Linked DNA regions of Homo sapiens: regions 1, 2, 3, 4, 5 and 6 are each linked to region 7. The links are contacts of gene promoters, found by promoter capture Hi-C in blood cells and fetal thymus (Javierre and others, 2016). All regions are on one chromosome and are shown on one strand. Each heading gives the region's core, a stretch centred on a gene start or on the middle of the fragment in contact. The rest is flanking DNA. Distances are from core to core; before and after follow the strand shown.

The links. The method cuts DNA at HindIII sites, captures the fragments that hold promoters and counts their contacts. A CHiCAGO score of 5 or more calls a contact.
Region 1: a contact is called between a fragment that was not itself captured here and the fragment with the promoter of GAPT in region 7, in 1 of 17 cell types (neutrophils). The highest score is 5.5, in neutrophils.
Region 2: a contact is called between a fragment that was not itself captured here and the fragment with the promoter of GAPT in region 7, in 9 of 17 cell types (neutrophils, monocytes, M2 macrophages and 6 more). The highest score is 17.6, in neutrophils.
Region 3: a fragment that was not itself captured here is called in contact with the fragment with the promoter of GAPT in region 7 in 1 of 17 cell types (neutrophils); the score reaches 5.2 in neutrophils.
Region 4: a fragment that was not itself captured here is called in contact with the fragment with the promoter of GAPT in region 7 in 1 of 17 cell types (neutrophils); the score reaches 5.6 in neutrophils.
Region 5: a fragment that was not itself captured here is called in contact with the fragment with the promoter of GAPT in region 7 in 6 of 17 cell types (naive CD8 T cells, total CD4 T cells, naive CD4 T cells and 3 more); the score reaches 7.8 in naive CD8 T cells.
Region 6: a contact is called between a fragment that was not itself captured here and the fragment with the promoter of GAPT in region 7, in 5 of 17 cell types (total CD4 T cells, M0 macrophages, neutrophils and 2 more). The highest score is 6.7, in total CD4 T cells.

The regions. Positions count from the first base shown.
Region 1 is chr5:57,250,315-57,253,972 of GRCh38, reverse strand. GPBP1 (GC-rich promoter binding protein 1) reads right to left here. Exons shown (of 12, transcript NM_022913.4): 10 at 2,832-3,019. Among named protein-coding and RNA genes, the nearest start is that of GPBP1, 78 kb to the right of the region's middle. The HindIII fragment of the contact is 2,488 bases long and covers 619-3,106 here.
Region 2 is chr5:57,296,137-57,299,819 of GRCh38, reverse strand. It overlaps LOC107986381 (a long non-coding RNA gene), which reads left to right. Exons shown (of 2, transcript XR_001742513.2): 1 at 1-595; 2 at 2,005-3,683. Among named protein-coding and RNA genes, the nearest start is that of RMEL3, 97 kb to the left of the region's middle. The HindIII fragment of the contact is 8,863 bases long and covers 1-3,683 here.
Region 3 is chr5:56,898,435-56,902,022 of GRCh38, reverse strand. It overlaps LOC105378980 (a long non-coding RNA gene), which reads left to right and starts at 1,957. Exons shown (of 3, transcript XR_948347.4): 1 at 1,957-2,026. RefSeq lists an enhancer at 2,119-2,288. The HindIII fragment of the contact is 7,054 bases long and covers 1-3,588 here.
Region 4 is chr5:57,205,756-57,209,601 of GRCh38, reverse strand. All of the region lies in intron 2 of GPBP1 (GC-rich promoter binding protein 1), which reads right to left. Among named protein-coding and RNA genes, the nearest start is that of GPBP1, 34 kb to the right of the region's middle. The HindIII fragment of the contact is 3,262 bases long and covers 21-3,282 here.
Region 5 is chr5:57,316,630-57,320,246 of GRCh38, reverse strand. It overlaps the pseudogene LOC100288510. Among named protein-coding and RNA genes, the nearest start is that of RMEL3, 77 kb to the left of the region's middle. The HindIII fragment of the contact is 4,097 bases long and covers 1-3,617 here.
Region 6 is chr5:57,269,051-57,273,136 of GRCh38, reverse strand. No RefSeq gene overlaps it. Among named protein-coding and RNA genes, the nearest start is that of GPBP1, 97 kb to the right of the region's middle. The HindIII fragment of the contact is 1,294 bases long and covers 2,083-3,376 here.
Region 7 is chr5:58,489,771-58,493,843 of GRCh38, reverse strand. It overlaps GAPT (GRB2 binding adaptor protein, transmembrane), which reads right to left and starts at 2,409. Exons shown (of 3, transcript NM_001304431.2): 1 at 2,303-2,409; 2 at 6-133. The HindIII fragment of the contact is 6,945 bases long and covers 1-4,073 here.

The sequences.
Region 1 (3,658 bases), core at 613-3,112, 1.2 Mb after region 7:
GAATAAGACCCTGCCTCAAAAAAAGAAAGAAAAGAACGAAAGAAGATCTAGCCAGGTGTCGTGGCTCACGCCTCTACTCCCAGCCCTCTGGGAGGCTGAGGCAGGAGTATCACTTGAGTCCAGGAGTTTTTGAGATCAGCCTGGGAAACACAGTGACACAGTGAGAGCTCATCTCTATGTTTTTTTTGTTTTTTGTTTTTAAGGGGGCAGCCATAACCCTTGGCAGGAGAAATATAAACTATTAAAACATTTGAAAAAATTAGAAATAAAAAGTAAAATTAAAATATTCCTCAAAAAAACTACAGATTTACATAACAGGTAGAAAAATACTGCAATATTTACTTCCCTCATTCATTTAACAAATTTAAGCAAAGTAATGTGCCAAGCACCATTCTAGGTGCTAGATATAGTGAACAAGATGGACAAAATGTTTGGCCTCATGTAGCTTATGTTCTTAATTAAAATAGAAGTTGAAATTATAAATAAATTCCACAAAAGTTATCCAAGAGGAGATATAACCCAGTTTTCCACTGTCTTAGAATTAAATGAGGTTCTAGAACTGGCAAAAAGTCAAGTCAATCAACTGGGCTGTTAATAAATGTAACTTAGCCCTAAGCTTGCTCTTAGAAGATGTAAGACTTTTTAAGTTAAAAAAAAATCAGTTTATACAAAGCAATTACAGAATAATAATATGATAATCTAAGGGTATAAACTATTAACTTTCTTTGCTTTCGTAGTTTTCAACATCTTTTAGTTATGCCGAACCATGTGGTTATTTAAGGAATACAGTAAGGGTATGTCATTTCTGCAAAAATACCTGCTTTTAACTACAAAAAAACAAAAATAAATTCTAGATATGAATACTCTTCAATTCTAAGACTAAACCACTTAAGAGATCACTATTTTTTAAAACGCTTTAGACTATACTGATGGAAGCAAAAAGTGCTGTTAAAAGTTTACAGCAGGCTGGGAGTGGTGGCTCACACCTGTAATCCTAGCACTTTGGGAGGCTGAGGCAGGTGGATCACTTGAGGTCAGGAATTCGAGAACAGCCTGGCCAACATGATGAAATCCCATCTCTACTAAAAGACAAAAATTAGCCAGGCATGGTGGCGTGTGCCTGTATTCTCAACTACTGAGGAGGCTGAAGCACAAGAATCTCTGGAACCCAGGAGGTGAGGTGGCAGTGAGCCAAGATCCTGCCACTGAACTCCAGCCTGGGCAACAGAGCAAGACCTGTCAAAAAAAAAAAAAAAATTTACAATAAAAACTAAATGACTGGCTGGGCACTGTGGCTCATGCCTGTACTCCTAGCACTTTGGGAGGGCGAGACGGGAGGATCGCTTCAGCTCAGGAGTTTGAGACTAGCCTACGCAACATAGTGAAACCCTCATCACTACAAAAAAATACAAAAATTAGCTGGGTATGGTGGTGCACACCTGTGGTCCCAGCTACTTGGTAGGCTGAGGTGGGGGGATCACTTGACCCTGGGAGACAGAGGTTACAGTGAGCTAATACCGCACCACTGCACTCCGGCCTGGGTGACAGAGTGAGACACTGTCTCGAAAAATAAATCACATATTGGGACAATTCGCTGTCCACGTGGGAAAGGATGAGTCTGAACTCCTACCTCACATCATCCAGGAAACCTGCATAAACCATACAAGGAAAAAAATGAACTACATCAAAATTAAAACTTTCTGCCCTTCAATAGGTACCACTGAAGCCGTGCATGGTGGTGCAAGCCTGTAATCCCAGCTACTCAGGAGGATCACTTGAGACCAGTCTGGGCAACACAGAAAGACCTCATCTCAAAAGGTGCCTGTGGGGGTGGGGGTGGGGGTGGGTGGGAGGTGATTGCACTACTGAGAGAATGAAAAAACTCACAGAATGGGAGAAATTATCTGCCAATCATATATGAGACTTATACACAAATATATAAAGAACTCTTACAACTTAGTAAGAAAATGTAATTTTTAAATGAGCGAAGTATTTATACAGTTATTTCTCTCCTAAGAGGATAAATGGCCAATAAGCACATAAAAAGATACTCAACACTATTAGTCATTAGGGAAATCATACTTCACACCCACTAGAATGACTGTAATCAAAGATAGATGGTACCATGTGTTGGTAAGAATGTGGAGAAACTAGAACCTTCTATATTGCTGATAAGGAAGTAAAATGACATAGTCATTTTGGAAAATAGTTTGTCAGTTTCTAAAAATGTGAAACACAACTATCATATGTCCCAGCAATTCAACTCCTAGGTATCTATCCAACAGAAATAAAAACATATCCACACAAGAACTTATATATGAATGTTCACAGCAGCATTATCCAAAACAGTCAAAAAGTAGATTGGACTAGAGCCTACTGTTAAAAAAAAAAAAAAAAGAGGTGGAAACAACTAATATTCATCAACTGATGAACAAAAAAGCAGTATAGTCATATAGTGTACTATTCAGCAATAAAAAGGAACAAAGTACTGACGTGCTTACAATGCAAATAAAACTTGAAAATATTATACTTAGTGAAAGAAGCTAGACATCAAAAATCACATACTATATTATTCCACTTATATAAGATACATACACAAGGCAAATCTATAGAAAGAATAGTAGCTGCCTAGGACAGAGTGCAAATGAAAAGTAAATGCGAGTGAACAAAGGGCTACTTTGAATATATTAAAAACCATCTGTATATCATAATGGGTGAAATTTATGGCGTAAGTTGTATTCCAATAAACCTGTTAAATCACGTAAAAACTCTATAATATTGAAATCTCGAATACAGAAAATGCTGAGCAAAAAGTACAAACAAATACTAGCCTGTGTTCTGCCTCAAGTGAACTTGAAAGAACATCAGTTTGTGGGAAGGTTGAAGACCGAATGATCTGCTGGGAAATCACTGAGGCATTGCCATTCTCTTGAGGAATTTCATTTTCATCGAAGTTTCGGTTTATATCCCTTTCTTGGTGAGTACTATTGCTGTTATGTAAATTAAATGAGTCGTCATCCTGATTTTTAGAGAGTTAAAAAAAAAAAAAAGAATGAGTTCTACAGAATACAGTTATTAAAAACTTTTAATAGATCCTAACTAAGCTTCCATTGAAAATACATAAATGCGGCCAGGCGCAGTGGCTCACCCCTGTAATCCCAGCACTTTGGAAGGCCAAGGCGGGTGGATCATCTGAGGTCAGGAGTTTGCGACGAGCCTGGCCAAAATGGTGAAACCCCATCTCTACTAAAAATACAAAAAAATTAGCTGGGCGTGGTGATACACGCCTGTAGTCCTAGCTGCTTGGGAGGCTGTGGCAGGAGAATTGCTTGAACCTAGGAGGTGGAGGTTGCAGTGAGCCAAGATCATGCCATTGTACACTATACTCCAGACAAGAGCAAAACTCTAAAAAAAAAAAAAAAAACCAACAACCATAAACGTAATACTTATAATTGTTAAATTTAGGAATGAAAAATTAAGCCAGGATGGATATCCAAAGCTTTCTTACCCTAAGTATTCATATCTATACAACAAATGCAAAATTAAAAGCATGAAGGCAGGCAAGATGGGACAAGCAAAAGAGAGCAGATATAAACAAGAATGCTTTTTAAATGTATTTTTCCACAGAAACTATAGAATGAAGCAAATCTACTTTAGA
Region 2 (3,683 bases), core at 158-2,657, 1.2 Mb after region 7:
CCAAATCTCATCTTGAATTATAGCTTCCATAATTCCCACATGTTGTGGGAGGGACCCAGTGGGAGATAATTGGATCATGGGGACAGTTTCCCCCGTGCTGTTCTCGCGGTAGTGACTAAGTCTCGGGAGATATGTTGGTTTTATAAGAGGAAATCCCTTTTGCTTGATTCTCTTTTCTCTCTTGTGTGCCTTTCACCTTCCGCCATGATTGTGAGGCCTCCCCAGCCACGTGGAACTGTGAGTCCATTAAACCTCTTTTTCTTTATAAATTACCCACTCTCGGATATGTCTTTATAAGCAGTGTGAAAACAGACTAATACAGAGACCCAGCGGGTGGAGACCTCCAGCTCCTCATCCCTCAAGATACAGGAAGTGAGCTGTTCAGGCCGCCTGTTCCCCGACGAGGTGCGTGGTTTTGGAGATTAATGTTAGCGGTCTTTGTGGGAGGCACTAGGAGGGCTCCCTTTAAGAAGCCCAGAGTGCGGAAACACTGATTGTGACATGTGAATGTGCTCCATGAGAAGATGGCAGGTATCGGAACGTGTGGAGGAAACTGAAAAGTAAAGACCGCCTAAAGATTGAAACTACCATTCAGGTAAAAGCAGCCTGACAGCAGACATCCCTTTTTAGAGGATGTTTAACAAACACATCACGTGTTCAGGAAAACAATCTTTCGGCCTTACTAAATTTTGTGCAGACGCTCCTCCGAACAGTGGTTTGCTGCCCCCTAGTGTTCGTTTTTTATTAAAAAAGTTTAACACACCCTGATTAGTCTCTTTCCTTTTCTTCTCAGCCTCTCCAAAGAGAATCATCTCTTGACTGTCACTGCAATAGCCAAATTAAACCACAAATTATGTGAAATTAAAAGCATGGGTGTTTTTATCAACACAGAGCCCCTGTATGACAGTTGTTTAGAACAGAAACATGCTCTTTTTGCCTCTCCTCCAGCCACCACCCACTCCACTACCATGATCAGTAAGGTGGGAAGGAATCCAAAGGGCCATAGGACAAAGCCAGAACCACAAAAGTCACCCTTTCTGTCCCTCCAGCAGGGACTTTTTAAGGAGAGGGCAACTCCCTATCTGAGGGAAGCCATTAGCTATCCCGGAGGTTTCCAAACTGGTTACTGGGGGAACAGTGTCTAAAACACATAGTTCTGAGTCTTAGCCCCAGCGCTGTCTTTTAAAACATTTTATGTTTTTATATACAAAAAGCCTTCTTGTATTCTTTGTATTTGCATTTTAACAATGTGCATATGTCATTCCATATATACGTTAAAATTACTTATTTAAGAAAATGACTGCTATGGCATTTCTTGTTGGACACCAAATTTAAACATTTTTTATATGCTGCACTATTAGGCAAAGGTGATACCGATGCTTTCTCTGACGCCAGGGAGTTTCCAAACCGTGGAAAGCTCTTTGGCCCCCTCTGCTGGTGAGTGATACACTTGTAAAAGAATATCAAAGTCCACTACTGGTGCCTTAGCCAAGAACCTCACCTAAGCTGACAAACATTTGTTGAGGAGTTTCATTTCTGTGAAAGATCCCATTAAGCTCTCCGGGTGTGTTCTACATTCACTGCCTAAGTCAGAGGAAGAGCCATTTCCACTTCATGTTTCTGTAAATTCTAAAGGCCTTTTCTTTCTTCAGCCAATATTTTCATATGCTCAACCAAAATCTTTTCTGAAACTCAGAGATGCCTTTCTCTCATGCTGGAACTATAAATAAAACACCAAATACAGGTTGAGCATCCTTTAGTCGAAATTCTTGGGACTGCTTGGGACCAGAAGTATTTGGCATTTCAAAACGTTTTGGGTTTTGGAATTCTTACATTACACTAGCTAAGCATCCCCAGTAGGAAAATCTGAAATGCCCCAAGGAGCATTTATTTTATGCTGGCCAGCATTCAAAAAGTTTTAGATTTTGGGCCTTTTGGATTTCAGATTTTGAGACTAGGCATACTCAATATGTAGTAAATTTGTAACTTTTTCTTGCTTATCAGGTAAGTTCCAGGGGACAGAAACAAGCTCTCTGAAGACTCTCATTAATCTTTGCTGTCCGAAGCTACCTTCTCCATCTCCTGCTCACCTGGGAGGACTCCCTGGAGGAAGCCAGGAAAGGTGAAAATCCATGTATCTCTTCACATTTGGAGAACAAAGGGAATTCAAGAACAATTTTATGGATTTTCTTTGTTTTTTATTAATTAAGACATGCCTGTTTTAAATTAGACAATAATTTTTTAAATATCCTTCAGATTATAAAATGTAAATTGTCATGGCCTCTTTTAAAGGCAATTCTACAGAATATACTGTAGTCTCTTTTTTTTTTTTTTTTTTTAAGTTTTTTGTAGAAGTGAACTCTCACTATGTTGCCCAGGCTCATCACAAACTCCTGGCCTTAGCAATCCTCCTGCCTCGCCCTCCTAAAGTGCCGGGATTACAGGCGAGAGACACCACACTGGGCCTGAATCTACTTTAAAAATATTTTTCAAATGTCATACACTATTACCCAGCAATTTTACTAGTGGTGTCTCTCCTAGAGAAACATAAACATGCGTTCAAGGAGGCTTGTACACGAGTGGCCCCTGTGGCACTGTTTCTAATAGCTAAAAAATAGAAAGAGTCTTAACTGCCCGTCAGTAGAGGAATGGCTAAATAGATGGTTATTTGCTAAGGCATCCTATGCAGCAATTAAAAAGGGATTAGAGAGTTTACATTTACTAACATGGACACATAACAAAAAAAAGAACCACTGTGGAGTGAAAAGGTATATTATAGAAAGATCCGTACAACGTGGTAGCATGTATTTTAAAAAATTCTGAATTCTCCCCAAGTACATATATAACCATGCAAATACACAGAAAATCTCAGGAAAACCACATATAACGCGGGAAGAGGGCCAGGAGTGGTATTTAATAGGGCCGGCCTTGGCTCTAAAGTTTTGTTTTCAAATGTAATGTCTTTGTTAATTACTTGAGTAATTTAAAAAGGTAACAACCTCTCCACCCTCATCCAATCACACCTTCCCAAAAGTAATCACTTTTAAGAGGCTTTCATAACTTTCTCTATGCTCACACAAAGATACACAAACACAGATGTGTTAGCAGCAGTGAACCCATATGGGTCTGCAGCAACTCAATTCTTGCCTCCTCAGAGCAAAGAATACATCCAAGGAGCATAATGCAAGTTTTTTGAGCAGGAGTGAGAGTCTATTATAAAAGTTTTAGAGCAGGAATGAAAGGAAGTAAAATACACTTGGAAGAGGGCCAAATGGGCATCTTGAAAGATCCAAGTGCCCCGTTTGACCTTTGACATGGGGTTTTATATATTGTCATGCTTCTGGGGTTTTGTGTCTCTCCTCCTTTGATTTTTCCTTGGGCTGGGCTGTCTGCCTGTGCAATGGCCTGCCAGCATTTGGGAGGGGCTGCATGTGCAGTGCACTTACTGAAGTTGTACACATGTTCATTTGAGGCATTTTTCCCTTACCAGTCAATTGTTCCTAGAGGAAGGTCATATACCAGTTAAACTCTGCCATTTTGCCTCTTAGTGCACATGCTTGAGCCCACTCTTCCAAATCCCAAGATCTTATTAGGAAGCTGCTGATCACTAGCTTCAGGTATTTTCTATCTGTTGGAGACTGCCTTCCCCTGGCACCGCTGTGATCAATTATTATTGTAGAAAG
Region 3 (3,588 bases), core at 1-2,500, 1.6 Mb after region 7:
AAAATAATTTTGTGCTGCAGGACCTAAAATATTGCATAAAAAGGAGGAGAAAATGATCTCTGCTAGTCTTTGTATGAATTAGCAAAAGGCACCTTTTCCTTTGGCCACTTTACTGCCATCGACTGTAAAAAAATGTAATAAATATACAAATCTATTAGGACTATACTGTGCAGCATGCTCCATATAGGTATGTAGTACACCAGCTAGTTTTGGCAGTCTTGGGAATCGACTGGAAGGTTCTGTGGCAGCACTTCTTGACTGCTCTGAGAACAAAAAGTTTGAAAACCACTGGTGTGAGGGAAGGTGCAGAGGTGGGGTGGAACACAATGGATTCAGAGAGCAGGAATGTAACGAAAGGAGTAGAACAGAAATTTTGTATTACGGATAGTAGGAAATAAAGATTTAGGCAGAATAAGGTCAGACCATTAAAAAACATGGACATTTGAGGTAGTCAGCAGTAGATAGTCATTGAATGTTCTAGTAGCAGAGTACTAGCTGGAAATAGAGTTTGAAAAGCTCAGAGGAACAGTAGTTGGCAGGATGCATGGATGGATAGATGCATGGATGGATATGGATGGATGGATGGACAGATGGATGGATGGATGGATGGATGGATGGATGGATGGATGGATGGATGGTTGGATGGATGGATGGATGGATGAATGGATGGATGACCCAGCCAGCTGAGAGTAGAGTGGTTCTGAGAACAAGAGACCAGGAAAGGGCATCAAGTATCTTGCTACAGCCTCTCCTTTTGTTGTAGACTGTTAGGAGCGGGTAGAGGGACTAGGAATACCCTGTTATGCAATAGATAAGCATAGAATCTAGGTTTTAGAATGGAAAAATGCAACTCTTAGTGATAGTTTTGAGTTTTTTTCAGTATTCTAAGGGGGAACACTGAGATTTCTGCTCTATTCCTGAGGAAGGGGTGAGATAACCTTTGATTTTCAGATATCTGGCAGGCAGTGCAAATTAAAAGTTTTACTCTGCTGCCCTCTTCTGGAGGTTGCATAATTGCCCAAATAATTCTTCCACGTTGTTCCCTTCACTTTTGCTCCTAGACAGACTTCTGGACAAAGTAGGCTATGCACATCATCTCCATGACCATGCTTGCCCAGCTATGATCATGTTTCCTTCTAGTCGGCTTCACTGGAATGGTCCTTGCCATTCACCTTGTGAGACTTAAGTTCTTATCTTACCTGACGTCTGTGGCTTTTGAAATTACTGACCTTTCTTTAAAACATTCTCCTCTCTTGATTTCCCTGACCCTGTGCGTTTCTAGTTTCTGAAGATGAGCTCTTGTCTCCTTTATCTATTCTGCTTCTTGTCTATGCCTTAAATCTTGGTCTTCATCGGGGTTCTGGTCTTGGTTTTTCCTCACTGAACATATTCTCCTGAGTATTCTCCCCCGTTTCCCTTGTGACTCATTGTGGTAGATGCTGTAGAGTTGCCTGCTTGATGTCCATTCTTCTCAGACTTCCTTATAGCTAGGGAGTTCTAGTCAAATGAAATGTGAGTGAAAATCTCGTAAGCATTTTAAGGAAAGTTTCTGTCTTCCTGACACAGGCACTACCTTTTTATTCTCCTTTTTCTTTCCCTGATTGTAGATTGGAGATCAGAGTTGGAGCCTGAGGGTGAAAGCCTCATGCTGAGAAGAGTGGAGCGGGAAGATAAAGCATGGCAACATTGATGACACCCTAGGCCTAATACACCAGCCCTGACCTGCTTACCTTCTCTCATTTGTAGGCTATGTAGTCCAGTCACTTTTACGTGCAGCTGAGTACAACCCTAAATGATATATCAATCGCTTCAGTGACCATTTATATGTCAATAGCTTGCACATTTATTATTTGCAACCAAAGTATCTCTGGAGGTACTCATGTGCATATACAGTATTACTGGAAACTTCTACTTGGATATCCTCCAGGCAACTCGAATATTTTAACATGGCCAAAGCACATCTTGTCCTCCAACCTACTCCCCCTGTGATTTCCTTGTATCAGTAATGGCACCAGCGTTCACACAGGTGACCAAGCCTGGATAGCAGACGCATCCTCGATGTCATTCTCCATCCTCCGCATACCCTTCCCCCAAGATCATTTCTACAATCTTTCAATTCTGCTGTTTAATATCGCTCAGATTTGTCTCTTCCTCCTCATTCCCATGATGCTACCTTCACCTAGGTTCTGGATACTGCAATTGCCTTCTGACTTTCTCTCTGCCTTTTGTACTGGCCCATGTAATTCTTTCTTCAAGGTACTGCAAGGGTGCTCTTTCTAACGCACAAATATCGTCATGCCACTCTCTGCCAAAGATTTTTCAATATCTCCCCATCTTTTTATTTCTCCTCCTATCCTTTCTCTCCATTTCACCCTAGTTACAACCCTCATCCTCTCAGTATGTCTACATAGATGTTGAGAAATCTTATTAAGTAAATTGACCTTAAGGGAAGCTATCACTTAGTTATCTCAAAAATAAACTCTAACAGGAATCTCAGCATTGTGGGAAAAAGAATTTTGGGGCATGAAGGATTTATCCCTTGCCACATCAGCTTAGGCTGGTTTTACCTCTACAGATGTAATAAGTTACAACCTAGGGCCATGAGGCATGGGGTATAGAGATGTCAGGTTGCATACCAACTAATGAGACTGGCTTCAGTCATCGATGGAGTTCTTTTGGTAACGGACTGTGCAGACAGTTATCTATTGCAAAATAAGACCTACAAAGTTAACTCTAACATCGACAACATATTTGAATGCTACATATGCATATTAATATTTTGTAACATGATACTTGAGCTGTAGTGGTAAGCATTTCACATTAGTGTGTGTAGTTAAGACATTAATTTTCTCTTCAGAGGTAAGCTGTCTAGCATCTATAATCAGCATCTCCACTTTTGTTCATCTCACATCTTGGAAGACAAAAGTCTTGGCCGGGAATGGTGGCTCATGCCTATAACCCCAGCACTTTGGGAGGCTGAGGCGGGCAGATCACGACGTCAGGAGATCGAGACCATCCTGGCCAACATGGTGAAACCCCGTCTCTACTAAAAATACAAAAAAATTAGCTGGATGTGGTGGCACGTGCCTGTAATCCCACTACTTGGGAGGCCGAGGCAGGAAAATCACTTAAATCAGGGAGTTGGAGGTTGCAGTGAGCCGAGATCACACCACTGCACTCCAGCCTGGTCACAGAGTGAGATTCTGTCTCAAAAAAAAAAAAAAAAAAAAAAAAAAAAAAAGACAAAAGTCTTAGATCCAATTTCCCAAAGCTGAGATTCTCGTCTAATTTTCTACCTTTTTTGTTTTCTAAGCCTGGGCACAGATCAGAGGTCAAAAGGTAGTCAGCCACAGGACAGTAGTCTAGCCCAAATAATTTTTATAGTTCTTAATAAGGATTTAAATTAGTTTTTAATGTTTAAACATCAGGGAATTGCACCTAAAATCCAGATTTCCAGCTTCTCTTGAAAATTTAGAGGATTTGACAATACTGGGCTTTCATTCTGACATGGTAACTATGACCTCCCTTGTACATGAACTTGACGCAAACTCTTAGGTCCGCCACAAGCCTTGCTGGGGATCTAGTCCC
Region 4 (3,846 bases), core at 402-2,901, 1.3 Mb after region 7:
ATGGTGAAAGACTGAAAGCTTTCCCCTTAAGATCAGGAACAAGACAAGAATGCCCTGCTTTCACAAGCTCTATTCAACACTGTAGTAGACGTTCTAACCATAGCAACTAGGCAAGAAAAGAAATGAAAGGCATCCTGAGCCACCACAGTGCAAAGCACCTGTAGTCCCAGATACTTGGGAGCCTGGGAAGGGAGAAGTGCTAGAGCCCCACAGTTTGAGGCTGTAGAGTGCTATAATGGCACCTGTGAAAAGCACTACACTCCAGCCTGGGGAACATAGTGAGACAGTGTCGTATTTTTTTAAATGGCATCCAAATTGGGAAGGAAAAAGTAAAATTATTCCTATTCACAGATTACATGATCTTACATAAATTCTAAAGAGTCCAGAAAAAATATGTATTAGAGCTAATTAAATTCAGGAACGCTGCCAAGATAGAAGATCAACACACAAAAACAGCTGTTTGTGTATACACTATTAACAATCCAAAAAAGAAATTAGGAAAACAACTCAATTCGCAGTAAAATCCAAAAGCATAAAATACCTATAATAAATAAATATAACCAAGAAAATGTTAAGACTTGCACACCAAAAACTATTAAGACAGTGCTGAAAGAAATGTTAAAAGACCTAAACAGAAAGACATCCCTGGCCCAGCACAGTGGCTCAAGCCTGTAATCCCAGCACTTTGGGAGGCCCAGGCAGGTGGATCACATGAGGTCAAGAGTTTGAGACCAGGCTGGCCAACATGGTGAAACCCCATCTCTGCTAAAATAAAGTATTAGCTGGGCATGGAGGCAGGCACCTGTAATCCCAGCTACTTGGAAGGCTGAGGTAGGAGAATCGCTTGAACCCAGGAGGCAGAGGTTGCAGTGAGCCGAGATCACGCCATTGCACTCCAGCCTGGACGACGGGGTGAGACTCTGTCTCAAAAAAAAAAAAAAAAAAAGAAAAACAAAAGACAGATATCCCTGTGTTTGAGGACTGGGAAACTCAACACTGTTAAGACAACAACACTACCCAAACATGATCTACAGATTCAACGTAATCTCTATTAAAATTCCAACACCCGGCCAGGCTACAGTGGTTCACGCCTATAATCCCAGCACTGTGGGAGGACAAGGTGAGCAGATCACTTGAGCTCAGTGGCTCAGGACCAGCCTGGGCAACATGGTGAACCCCGTCCCTACTAAAAATAAAAAAATCAGCCAGGCATGGTGGCTCGTACCTGTGGTCCCAGCTACTTGGGACACTGAGGCGGAAGGATTGCTTGAGCCCGGGAAGTGGAGGTTGCAGTGAGCCAAGATCACACCACTGCACTCCAGCCTGAGCAACAAAATGAGACTCTATTGATATGGAGGGAGGCAAGGAAGTGCTGGGAAGAAAAGGGCATGGTCCCTGGCTAGGGCTCCAATCCCCTGAGAAAGAGTAAGACCCTACTGATACAGAAGTGTGCAGGCAAGCGCTGGGAAGGGAAGGGCATGGTCCCTCGCGAGGGCTCCATCCCCGGTTCTGTGCCCACGGATCTAGGTGAGGACAGGCATTTCTGTTTTCCTGACCAAATGATGCATTTCCCAAGACCACTCTGCCAGTCACACCCCCATCGTGTGCCTATAAAACCCTCAGAGACTCTAGTAGGCAGAGACACAAGTGGCTGGACGTCATCGAGAGGGACATATCGGCGGAAGAACACACAAATAGCTGGATGTCCAGGGAAGCATGCCAGTGGAATACCACACTGACAGAAAGCAGGCTGGCAGGCCATCGACCAAAGAAGGGCATGAAGTTTGGCTGGGTTTGGCTGGTGCGGTCAGAGGAGAGCCCAGGTCACTGAGCTGCAGGACTCCAGGGGAAAACACCCTCCCACTCCATCTCCCTCCTGGCTTCCCATCCATCTGCTGGAAACTTCCACTCAATAAAACCTTGCACTCGTTCTCCAAGCCCACGTGTGATCTGATTCTTCCCATACACCAAGGCAAAAAAGCCCTCTGTCCTTGCGATAAGGCAGGGCATCTAACTGAGCTAACACAAGCCGCCTATGGATGGCTAGACTAAAAGGGCACCCTGTAACACATGCCCACTGGGGCTTCAGGAGCTGTAAACATTCACCCCTAGGTGCTGCCGTGGGGTCGGAGTCCCACAGCCTGCCCTGTCTGCATGCTCTCCCTAGAGATTTGAGCAGTGGGGTGCCAAAGAAGCAAGGCACACCCCCATCACATGCCCTGCAAAGGGGATAAGAGAACCTTTCACTAAGTTTCACTATTTCAAAAAAGAAAAAAAATCCAACACTCTCTTTTGTACAGAAATAAAAAAGGCTATTCTCAATTTCCTTTGGAAGTGCGAGGGGCCCTAAACATCCAAAAACAATTCAGAAAAAGAATAAAGTTACAGAACTCACACTTCCCTATTTCAAAACTTACTGTAAAGTAACAGTGAGCTGGCCATTTGTAGATCTTCTTAGGAAAAATATTCAAGTCCTTTGCCCATTTTGATTATTTTTCGAGACAAAGTCTCACTCTATCACCCAGGCTGGAGTACAGTGGCACTACCATGACTCAATGCAGCCTCCACCACCTGGGTGCAAACGACCCTACCACCTCATCCTCCCAAGTGGCTGGGAATATAGGCATGCCCCACCACACCAAGCTAATTTTAAAAATATTTTTCGTAGAGATGGGGTCTACGTTGCCCAGGTTGGTCTCAAACTCCTGGAATCAAGCAATCCTCGCACCTTGGCCATAGTGATCAAAACTGTAGTATGGCCTAAGAACAGACATATAAACCAGAAATAAGCCCACACATTTATATCCAAGTTATTTTCAACAAGAGTGCTAAGATGATTCAATACGGAATTGTCTTTTCAAAAAAACAGACTGGACAACTAAATAGCCATTGGACCCCCCTACCCAAACCATATACAAAAATAAACTCAGCTGGGTGCAGTAGCTCACGCCTGTAATTCCAGCACTTTGGGAGGCCAAGGCAGGTGGATCGCTTGAGGTCAGGAGTCCGAGACCAGCCTGGCCAACATGGCAAAACCCAACATGGCATCGTTGTAGGTGCCTGTAATCCCAGTTACTTGGGAGGCTGAGGCAGGACAATAGCTTGAACCCAGGAGGCAGAGGTGGCAGTGAGCCGGGATCGCGCTACTACACTCCAGCCTGGGCAACAGAGCAAGATTCTGTCTCAAAAATAAATAAATAAAATAAACTCAAAATAAATCACAGACCTAAATATAAAAGCAAAAACTATAAAACTCTTAGAAGAAAACAGGGAGATAAAGCTTCCTGACCTTGGATTTGGCAATGAATTCTTAAATATGACACCAAAACCAAGAGTAACAATTAAAAAAAGAAAACAAAAACTGAACTTCATGAAAATTTAAAACATGTGCAAAAAATATTATCTATAAAGTAAAAAGACAACTGACAGAAGAAAATATATGCACCTCATATCTAATAAGGTCTAGTATCCAGAATATATAAAGAACTCTTACAACTCAACAACAAACAGACAACTCAATTTTAAAATGTACAAAGGGCCAAATGCAATGGCTTGTGCCTGTAATCCCAGCACTCTAGGAGGCCAAGGCAGGAGGATCACTTGACCCAGGAGTTTGAGACTAACCTGGGCAACACAGTGAGTCCCTATCTCTACAAAAAAATGTTTAAAACTTAGCCAGGTGTGGTGAGGCACACCTGTATTCCCAGCCACTCAGGAGGCTGAGGTGGGAGGATCGCCTGTGACCAGGAGGTGGGTACTGCAGTGAGCCTTGATAGTGCCAGTGCACTATAGCCTGAGTAGCAGAACAAGATCCTGTCTCAAAAAATATATAAATAAAATAAATAA
Region 5 (3,617 bases), core at 476-2,975, 1.2 Mb after region 7:
TATTTTAGCAATGTTGAAATATGCAATACATTATTGGCCAGCCGTGGTGGCTCACGTCTGTAATCCCAGCACTTTGGGAGGCCAAGGTGGTAGGATCACTTGAGTCCAGGAGTTCAAGACCAGCCTGGACAACATAGTGTGACCCCGACTTTACAAAAAAAAAAAAAGATTAAAGAATAAAACGAAATAAATACAATGGGCTGACTCTGTACACGTGAGCTGCAGCATGGCAGCCCACCACTCCAGCCCACTCAAGATGCAGAATAAAGCTCATAAAAGTGGGCAGCATCGGGGTCGGGGATCTGCACAGCAGGATGGCAAGGGCCATCTAGCACTGAAAACCCTAAGCAAGAAGGTGAGAAAAGAACTCAGCAGAGTAGACCAGAGGCATTCCGCCAGTCAGCTCCAAAAGCAGAAGAAGGAGGTGGTTCTGGCGGAGAAGAGACAGCTGGGTAGCAAGGATGGCTCTCCTCATTAGCACTAGCTGTCCAGGGATTATCTGGCCTCCCACTGAAGAAACAAATAGATGCCAGAAAGAAGCTAAGTAAAGCAGTGGAGAAGCACTTTCTGGATGACAAACTCCTCTTGTTAGACACTCAACAGGAGGCAGGGATGCTGCTTAGGCAGTTGGCTAACCAGAAGCAATGGCATCTTGCTTTTCGAGATCAGCAGGCCTACCTATTTGCCCATACTGCTGATTTTGTTCCTAGTGAAGAGAATAATTTGGTGGGCACCTTGGAAATTTCAGGCTATGTTCGTGGGCAGACTCTGAATGTAAATAGGTTGCTGCATATCACTGGACGTGGTGATTTCCAGATGAAACACATAGATGACCCCATGGACCCTTTCCCTTTAAATCCTACAGTAATTAAATCCCAAAAGGACCCAGACATGGCAATAGAGATTTGTGCTATGGATACTGTCGATGATATGGAAGAAGACCTTAAAGTCCTAATGAAGGCAGATCCTGCTAGACAGGAATCCTGACAAACAGAGGTTATCCCAGATCTAACGCAGGGGGAGCAAACCTGGCCCAATGAGGAGGAGTTGAGTGAGACAAAGGATTTCTTGAAGGGAGATTCTAAGGTGGTAAAGAATATGATGATACAGAACATGAGGATTTTATGAAGGAGGAATCTCAGCATGAAAGTGTGAAGATGAAGAAGAGGAGGAATGTGAAACTATGACTACAAGGGAGTCTGTGCATGATGATCTCTCTGATGAGAAAGTGGATGAAGAAGCTGAGGCAAAAATGTTGGAGAAATGTAAACAAGAAAGACTGGAAGAGATGTTTCCAGGTGAAGTGGGTGGACACCCCCTGTGATGTGGCTGCCAGAAATTCAGTTTCAGAAATACAAAGGCCTCAAGAGCTTCCAGACATCTCCATAGGATCCTAAGGAAAAATATTGCTCAAGATTGTGCTTGAATATTTCAGTTTCAGAACTTTACTAGTACTAGGAAAAGCATATTTAAAGAGATTGAAGAAAAAGAGGTTGAAGGAGCTGATGTTGGCCAGTATGTCACACTTCATGTCTCTAATGTCCCTGTCTCAGTGGTTGAGTGATTCAGGCAAGGAGCACCCTTGATTGCATTTTCTTCACTACCTCATGAACAGAAGATGTCAGTATTGAATATGGTGGTGAGGCATGACCCTGGCAGCACTGAATCTGCGAAAGCCAAGGAGGAGCTCATATTCCGCTGTAGATCCAGGCACTTCCGAGCCTCACCTTTATTCTCTCAGCATGCTGCAGCAGACAAACATAAATTTCAGAGATTCCTGACTGCTGATATGGCCCTGGCGGTGACAGTATACGCACCAACCACTTTTCCTCCTTCATCTTTGCTGCTTTTCAAGCAGAAAAGCAATGGAATGCACAATCTCATTGCTACAGGCCATCTTTTGCTGGTGGATCCAAACAGAATGGTCATCAAGAGAGTTGTCCTGAGTGATCCTCCTTTCAAAATTTGTACTAAGATGGCAGTGGTATGTTACATGTTCTTCAATAGAGAGGATGTGCAGTGGTTTAAACCAGTAGAACTGAGAACAAAGTGGAGCCGCAGAGGACACATCCAGGAGCCTTCAGGTACCCATGGCCGCATGAAGTGCAGCTTTGATAGGAAGCTAAAATCTCAGAACACAGAACTGATGAACCTTTACAAATGAGTTTTCCCCAAATGGACTTATGATCCAAGTGTACCAGAACCAGCACCTTGGGTGAACAGTGAGATTTCTTCAACAGTGCCTCAGGTGGGCATGGAGTAATGGATTTAAAGCGATTCTGTCTTACTGAGGCCAGTCAGCACTCCAAGGATGGGAGTCACAAGTTGTGATTGGGCAAAGTTTATTTTCTATGTCAGCTTGTCAGTCGGCTGCACCATTTTGCAAGAATTTTTTTGGCCTTGATAAAATGTCTCAGTTAAGTATGGAAGTTTTTCTACTGCTTAATCCAAAAAGCTATTAAATCTTACTGAAATAAAAATAAATGCATAAATACAATGCATTATTAATAACTGTGGTCACCATGCTGTACAATAGATCGCTAAAGGATATTCCTCCAGGGTCATTGAAACTTTGTACCCTTTGACCACATTTCCTTTCAACTTAGTCACTGACTTGCTGATGTTCGGCTTTGACAGAAATGCGTTTCCAGAATGCCTTTCCATTCCTCCCTCAGAGCAGGGAGGGCAGTTAGGCTTGCTTCTTTCACTTTTAAGTTGATTCTTTCCTCTGAGGGATGGAGTCTGTCATCCTTACATTCATCATCCGCTGGGGTAGCACTCCAAAGTCACCCTCACCATTTGGCAAATCCACCATTTGGCAAATCCAGCTTCTGTCAGATGTGCCCACATGTTTGTTTCTTCTCCACAAATGGAAGAACTACGGTGATTACTGCTGCTCACTAAATTAAACTTAACAATCTAGTTTATTCCAGCAGGTTCCTGGTAAACAGCACTGCAGCTGAAAAGGCTTATCCTGTTTATGTTAACATGAAATATCCTGGGTTGAGGCTCCCAGAGCAGGGCAGAGGCTGCCCTCCCTGAATGTCAGCTGTTTGAAGGGCTTTCTGTTTTGACAAATGGTGTTTAGATAAGAAAGCCACTGTTGATGTGATGTTTTGTATCAACTTTGAGCTTTTGACGTAGATGGAGGTTGTTCTATTTCAGTATATGCCAGGCCTTCTTAAAGAGGAGAATCATCACTCTATGTAATGGCTGGAAGTCCCCCATTGGCTAACCCTCCATACACAGCGTGACCTTCTTGAGCTGCTGTCTCTGCATCAGGTTTCTCAAGCTCAGCACTATTACCACAAGACTGAGTCATGCTTTGTTGTGGGCCGTCCAGTGTATTGTAGGATGTTTAGCAGCAAACTGACCTCTACCCACTAAATGCCAGTAGCACCCTCCCACAAGTCCTGACAACCAAAACTGCCTACAGACATTGCCAAATGTCCTCTGGGGAGGGGACAAAACCACCTCCGACCCACCCACCTGCATTGAGAACCACTACTCAAAGTTAAAAAGAACATTCTTTTTATGAAGGCCAGGAAGGGACAGGACCATTTGTAGAACATTCGGGAACTCTCAAAGCATCCTCAGATTGGTCTCTTCTTTCATTC
Region 6 (4,086 bases), core at 1,480-3,979, 1.2 Mb after region 7:
CTCAAACAGTATTCCATTTTATACCTAAGGAAATTGAAGCACATACAAGCCAGGTAACAACCCAAGTCACACAAAAACTACCTAGTTAGTTCCTCTTTTCCTAACAGCCCTTCAAATACTGGAAGACAGCTTTCCTACCTACTGACTACTTGCTTTATCTTTGGGGACCCCTGCACACACATTTGTCTTTTGCTCAGAAGAGCCTGGCCAGAGGCATGGCTCAGAATCCTGGAGTCAATTGGTCACTGGACCTTTTGAGACCCAAGGATGCCTCTGCTAATCAGGTTCAGCAAGACAAACATCTGTGAAGTAAATGCAACCCAGCCTGCATTGAGAAATATGCTAGGATAATGCAACCTCTCTTTATAACTACCTCCAAGTCAAAAAGAAAGGCTTGAAAATTTGTCAAAGTTAGCAACTGCGATTTCAGCAGAACATTTGTACACCAAATAGCTAAATCCCAAGGCTAAAAACCAGTGTTACTCTTTTTTTTTTTTTTTTTGATTTGGAGTCTCACCCTGTCACCCAGGCTGAAATGTAGTGGCACAATCTTAGCTCACTGCAACCTTCGCCTCCCAGGTTCAAGTGATTCTCCTGCCTCAGCCTCCCAAGTAGGTGGGACTACAGGCACCCGCCACCACATCCAGCTAATTTTTGTATTTTTAGTAGAGACAGAGTTTCACTCTGTTGGCCAGGCTGGTCTCAAACTGCTGACCTCAGGTGATCCACCCGCCTCGACTTCCCAAAGTCCCGGGATTACAGGTGTGAGCCACCACACCCAGCCTCAGTGTTAGAGTGTTTATTTCTCACTAATGTCACATCGCAATAAACAAAAGTGATTTTTATTTTTTCACACACTAAAACTGGATCATCCAAACGACTATTGGATGACTACCTTCATAGTAGTCACTTTGATGGGCTCTGCATTTATTTAATAACACTCATCATAGTACCAGGCACACAGAAGGCATTCAGTCAATGTAGGAATGGTTCTGGTAATGCTGCCATTGCTTAGAGCATTTTTGGAATTATTCTTCTGATCTGTCTTCTGAAGTCAAAACATATTTTAAGTATCTTGTCTGTTGTTTTTTTAGTTTATTATTTTTTCTTGTTATATCTTAAATATCTTTAATAGTAGCAGTTCTTGGCCTTAGAGGACATGGCTTAGCAAATTGTAAAATTAATTATTTCTCCCATTGTGAAACAAACCACAGAAAACTACATTAAACATATAAATTCATTGCATTTTTAGAAATGGCAAAAGCACCTATTCAAAAAGAAGTATTTTGTTTTTCTGGACACAAATTTTCAGGTACTGAGAATGTGCCTAGCTATACAGAAAATCCAAGGCTTGTCTTCCCTGGACTTAGTTATATATGGAAACAGATGTAGATAAAATAGAGGATGTTTCTTGAGGCAGGACCACACTTTTTACATCTTTGGGTCTCTTCATCCACCAGCACTACATTTTGTTTATAGTAATTGCTCAATAATTACTCAATTAATTTTCAGTATAAATTACTTTGGACAGGGAATAGAGAATAGGCTTATTAAAAGAGATAGAAATTACTTATTAGAACCTCATCTTTATTTGTGAGGTCTAAAATTATGTGACAGCGTATTACTCAGGGACTGCCGTAGGCAATTTCTCTACTTCAGGTCAGATCCTTGTTCAACCTTTCCCCCATCCCAACATGCCAGGAAGTTTGCCTCTTTCATTACTAACATATACTCCTCTAGATGACTTGTCACTTAAAGTGACACCTGAAGTATTCACAAGTTTTCCCTCCTCCCTTACCCTGCAGTTTTAAGCAATCATATATATGGATCTTAGTGTTACTTAAGGACTGATATTCCAGTTTTAACATCTTTGATGGCTCCCCACTGCTTGCAGGATAAAATCAAAATTTGGTCAAAATGGTAGAGGGTCCTTCATGACCTGGCTCCTGCTGTGTCACCAGCCTCATTTCCCTTTCCTCCCCTTACACCTATACTGAACTCCAAAAGGTTTCCTGAACCCAATGGGCTATAGCGTGCCTATTGTTAATCAATCATTGAAACGATGACATCCTCTGGAAAGCTTTCCCTGAGCTGTCCTACTATGCTCTATGCTCTGTACACAGCACATACTGAAAAACTCATTTGCAGTAGTCTGTCCTACAAGGTTGTGATCAATTTCAGCACAAGGGTTATCTTTATTCTTTGTACCCTCAGTACAAGGCCTAGCCTAGCAGGCCCTTATTTACTGACTTTGTTGCTTTAATTTGGTAAAAGGAGAAAGATTCATACAATCTAAAGAGAAGGCAGAATATTGTTTTAATCTAGAAAGTTGCAGTTACAGAAATATTTGCTACCAAAGAAATCATTGATCACATTTTAATGTAACTAGTGAAGGCCTTCTCTATTTACTCATCATCATGGATCAGATCCCTTCTCATGGAGGTTGGACTGACTGGGCTATTTGAACTTTGTTTAGCCCTGCCTCTAGCTAGGTCTAGGAGGGTTCTCAGTGCTTCCTGCAGCAACTTGTTCTTTATTCTTTTCTATGGATTTAGATATCATGTGGTACCTCTGGAGTGGTTTCACTGGCTGAGGACAATTTCCTAATTCCTAGATTTCAGGTCCAGTACGCTGACTTCACATCTTTGCCCCATCACAGAAATCTTTCCTTCATCCCCACCCTAGAATTTGAGTATTGCCCTCTGTGCCTAGTTGTTAGTCTGAAGCATGTGTTACTGATAAGATACTAACTTCATCACCTATGGCTTTCTATCTGCGCTATTATGTCTCACCAGCATCTACTCAACTTTAGTACAAACCCCAAAATTATGGCAACCTGATGCCTTATCACGGCAACTTCAATACCAAACCTTGACCTCTTGTTTCAAAGCTCTTATCCTGTTTTATTATTTCCTGTTGCTGATAAAGTGATGCCTCTAGTTCTCAATTCATGTTCATAACAAAGTGATGAAATGCTCTTCGCCAACGTCTCCACTTTGGAGAAAAATAAGCTATAATTTCCACCAAAGGCAGGCAAGGGTCTTCTGTTAAAATAAATGGTCCTTATTGTTGTTGGCACAATCCAATCGAGGAAAAAAGACAGTTTTTATCCTCATAAATACTCAAAGCAGAGAATGCTGGCAGAGTGACAGAAGAAATTACCTCACTTTTGGAGGAGAAAGGGAAGCAGGTCTATCCTTTGAAAACTATCTCCATGTTTCACAAGTTTTCCCACTTTCTCTGTAAAAGTCTCTATATTGCACTGATAAATTTGTACTTCTTTCCTTGTGATTTAGGACACACTATATTTTATCCTGTGTGGACACATTACAATCATGTTTTACAAACGGGAAACAATTGTCTTAAAAGTTAAGCTTCCTTACATTCAGAATGTCTGTATTAAAAGAAAAAAAAAAGTTAGGCTTTCAAATATTGCCCCAGAACTGGGCAGGACAGGGGGAAGCATTTTGCAAGACTGAAAAATCACACAGGTAATGGTATAAAGATCAAATATGACAACCCAACTTTCACTTTCCTTGAGTTTCCAAAGGCCTAGTTTTTAATGTTTATAATGAGGATCAGCAAACTACTGTCCCTACCCAGCTTGTTTTATTGGAAAAGACACACCTACCTGTTTACTGTCTGCGGCTGCATTGGTACTATTAATTGAGTAATTGGAACAAAAATCACATGGTCCAAAATATTTACCATCTAGCCCTTTACAGAAAAAGTTTGCCAACATTCGGTTTAGAAAATAATCTTCAAAAAAGAAATTTCAGACATCTTAATAGATGGCATGAGTCTCTATGTCTCTATGTGGGGATACAGAATTGCCTAGACTCACTTTCTCAGTAGCCAGGTTCTTCTCATTCTGTCAAATGACTCACTCTAATAGTCAATAAACCAAAATAACTTTTCAAAAGCTAAACAATGTCAGGACATTAAGTCCAAATTTGAGGGAGAAAATATCTCTTCACCTCACCAAGTCAACTTCTCGTAACGCAACTGTACCTGCTTATTACAGTATACAGATTGACATTTCATTGTTTTCCCTTCTGCTAGTTTTTGCTTCTCTCCAGCCATTAA
Region 7 (4,073 bases), core at 1,160-3,659:
ATTACCTGTCACCTCTTCTGTGAAGCCCTGCTTATCCTTTTTTGGAGCAGTCAGAGGCCATGTCTTTTTCTTAACCATTCCTTCCTCTGTAATCCCATATTAATGAGTCCATTCTCTATTATAGCGTGATAACCTAAATGAGAGAGAATTGTATTCTTACTTGGTTAAATGGTGGGCAGGGTTCAGGTCATTTCATCTGTATGTTCCCAGAGAATGGCACAACACCTAGCACAGAAAATGCATCCAATCAATATTTATTGAATGAAATAATGCATTTAAAAATGACTGCAAATGTCAGCATCTAATTGCTTAAGATGATAGTTTAAAACTCAAGGGTGTAGTTTATACTTAAAACATGAAATGAGATCTTTAAAGTAAACCAATGTATTTTCAAAATCCTTAGTATCACAGGTTTTCTCATAGCTTTCAGAAAATAACTTCCATGCAAGATGATTTTACATTGTTTTCTGTTGATGCTTTAAAATGGCAAGGAGACAAGAAGGGGAAGTGTTCAACTGGGCTGCATGTTCCATTGTGATTTTATCAACAAAACATTATTACTGTATATTTTCAGTCTAGACATAGACATAGATCCAACAGTGCCTGTGAAATGATTATTATCATCTATGGAATGTTATTATCATCAATAATGTTTAGTTAAGAGTTTCAGCTTTTAAAAACTGTTACAGGGATTATCTCATTTAATCCTATAGCTGCTATATGTAGTGGGTACTATTCATATCACCATTTTATAGATAAGAAGAGAGGCTTAAAGAAGTTAAGTAACTTCCTTACAACCAAAATGTGACTGAATGAGAATTCAGGTAAAAATTTCCCCAAAATATTATTTATCCAAATATCTGTAACATGCTACTAAGTGCATCAGTCAGAAAATTTGTATAGCTTGATTAGCTCTGAGGTTCTCGAAGGTTGGAAATCATATATTATTTACCTTTGTATTACCAACACCAGCATTAGACACAGAATGACTAATCTATTAGACATTTGTTAATGAATGAAGTAATCTCCTTATGGGATAATAATAGTAACAATGAGAAGAAAAATAGAAATTCACAAAGTGGTGCTCTGCTTTCAGTGAGTTTTCATGAAAAGTTTAATGGTAATGAACGTTCATAAATTTGTCCAAGGTTAGAATATATTAATATGCAAATATTTAATTTGACATTTCATAAAAGAAAATTAAATAAGATGTGCAGCTAATTTATACAATTTTTTGATAAAAATACAGGGACAAGCACCCCAGATGCAGAAACATTTTAATCTCCTTGGAATTTTTGGGAGTAATATTGAGGTTGAGAACTGTATGGTCCGCCACATAAGATTTACAATCTGCAGGGTCCCTCCTTTATAAGGCCAGCCGTGCTTGTGTTCAAGGACAAAAGTTTAGCCAAATGACTTTAATCATTAGGACCTCATTTCCTGTCTGAAACAGATGAGCACCAATTATCTGCAAGATATTTTATGGTATACATGGTTAATGATTTAAGAAGTTATTTGCCAGAATATTTGAAATAAATTTACAAAATACACTTTAAGTATTGATTGAAATTAATCAACTTTTTGAAAGATACTAGGCCTGCAACAGAAGTCACGGTGAGGGTTGAGGAAGGCTAACTATTGTCACTTCTGTAGCTGAGGATAAGGCAATAAATTACTCTCTTAATTTTTAAGAAGAAAAGGCATTTTTACCATCTATGTTATTCTATGTAGAGTAGAAATTCTGGTACATCCAAAATATTAAAATTGTTTGTCTAAGAGATATTTACCAAGATAAAGACAAGAAGACTTTTTACAGAAAAAGAAATGCATCATTTTCTTCGAAATAACATTAGAGGAAAAAACCTGTGAGACATGAACAAAGACCTACTATAATGAAAAACATATTTTAAACAATAACCATTCAAATATAGTTTAACACTTAAATAATGTTCACTTTGACCAGTTTGAAAGAAGACTCTGTTTTCATTTTGGAAAGCAGTTCCAACAGGTTACCTAACAATTTGACATTTTTCTTAAAATCGCAAATTGTTGAGAAACTTCAGGAATTTTCAAGTAAGAGAATGCCCTGCTGTTTGGAAACAAGGTAACAGCAAAGCATAATCATATTGTAAAGAAACATTAACATCACTCTCAGTTTGTAAATTGGGTTTCCCCCTTACAGCTACGTAAGGCATTTTTTTCTAAAAACTGTAGTAAGATAAAAATCATTGATTAATTAAAGACAAACTTGTTTCTTATAGTGTTTAATCATCCAAATACCTTAAATCAGGTTCTTACTTACCTCAAGATTGGTGTGTCAAGCTCTCTCTTTTGTTCTTTTGGTTATGTTTTAAACCTGCATTGGGTTAGAACTTGTTCCTCTTTTTCACTTTGGTGGGTTACTTCCTTCTTTCCCTCCTTCGTTCACGCTATTTAATACTTGCAAAGTTTCCTGGCTCTAGAGGAAGTCAGTATCAGATGCAGCAGAATTAAGATAAATGGCGTGAGGTTTTGAATAAGGAAGTCTGGCCCTTCATCTTTGTCAAGTAATAGTTTTTTAACTGTGTCAGAAAATAATACGTAAAGCCTACATGGTTTTTTATTTGGGCCATATTTGCAGTTCCCACTTTAATATCAATAAAAGTCACTTCACTTGTACTTTGATTTTTTAAAAAAAGAAATATTTTAATTGTAGTAACACATAGGTCTTGGGCTTTTATTATTATTATTATTATTTACTTGTGTTGCTAGACCAGTCCTCTCTTCAAATATTAATATTATGTACCAATGCTCCCAAGTTATAGCCATACAGGTCAAATCAGTGTCCCAATTTGGGTTTGGAAAATGTTAACGTTCTTTTAAATTTATAAATAGGAATTTCCTAAGGTATGTTTTGAGGCCCATTACCCCTGAGATATGCTAGCAGCTCTTCCATCAAGTAAATGTGGGGAATACTGCTTCCCTGGAGATTCATGGGTACATCAGCATGCTAAAGGCTCTCAGCAGTCTTACAGCCAGCAAACAAAATAAAACCAAATAAGAAAAAGAAATTGTTTAACTTTGCTTAATAATAGTAGTCAGTATGTTCCTAGCACTAAGTACTCCAAACCTTTTGTGTAATACTCAGCAAATCTTGGCAACAACCCTGTGAGGGAGAAAAACTGTTATTAGTCCTATTTTACAGAAGAGGAAACAGAAGCACACAGAATGATCACTTGCCCGACAGAGCCTGCAGTTTGCCCCCAGCACCTGTGTGCTAAACCACTGCACTGGCTGCCTTGCTAGATTGAGTAACATGTTTCCCACATAGATACGCTTACCAAGAGCATCTCTTGGAGTCCAACTCATGGGAACACACACAGTGGGAGATGCTGAATTAGACAAATTACAGATGAATTCGACAGATGAGATGACAAAGTAATGGAAAATTTGTCTTTTAAGTTGTCTTGGAACTTTTTGAACCACAGAGGATTAACTTTGCATAAGGTGGTTTTAAAAAAGAGGATTTAGTTACTGAAATAACTACTGGACATTGGAAGGACAGGACGTATTATTAACACTTGCTGAGCACTGACATTATGCCAGGCATTGTGCTAAGAGATGAGGATGCAAGAGTGAATAAGCTCCCTGCAGCACTTAAAGCCAAGTAGAGAGGCTGCTGCGCCCACAGAACATTTCAGATCAAAGTGATAATGCCTAAGAAAGACAGGATTATGGACAGGGACAGTGGAGGTAAAGGAAAGAGGCATCCAGCTCAGAGGGTGGTCAGGGAAGGCAAGACCTGAGCTAAGCCTCATAGAATAAGGTGTTAAGGCAGAATAGGGGTGTCCTGGACAAAAATCTTACAGTGAAGGAGGTTATGAAGTTGTGAAGCTATGAACTTGATGTGCTCCACATTCTCACCACTATATTTAACTTCAGTATTAGCCACCCCTCCAAATAATATACACACTCACCTGCCTAGGCATACATCTGTAAGAAAGGCAATTTATACAATGTTTGTATAAAATTATGATTTTCTCTAGAAGGCAGGACAACTGGTGCTCATTCAGCTTTTGCCCTTTGAAGTTAAA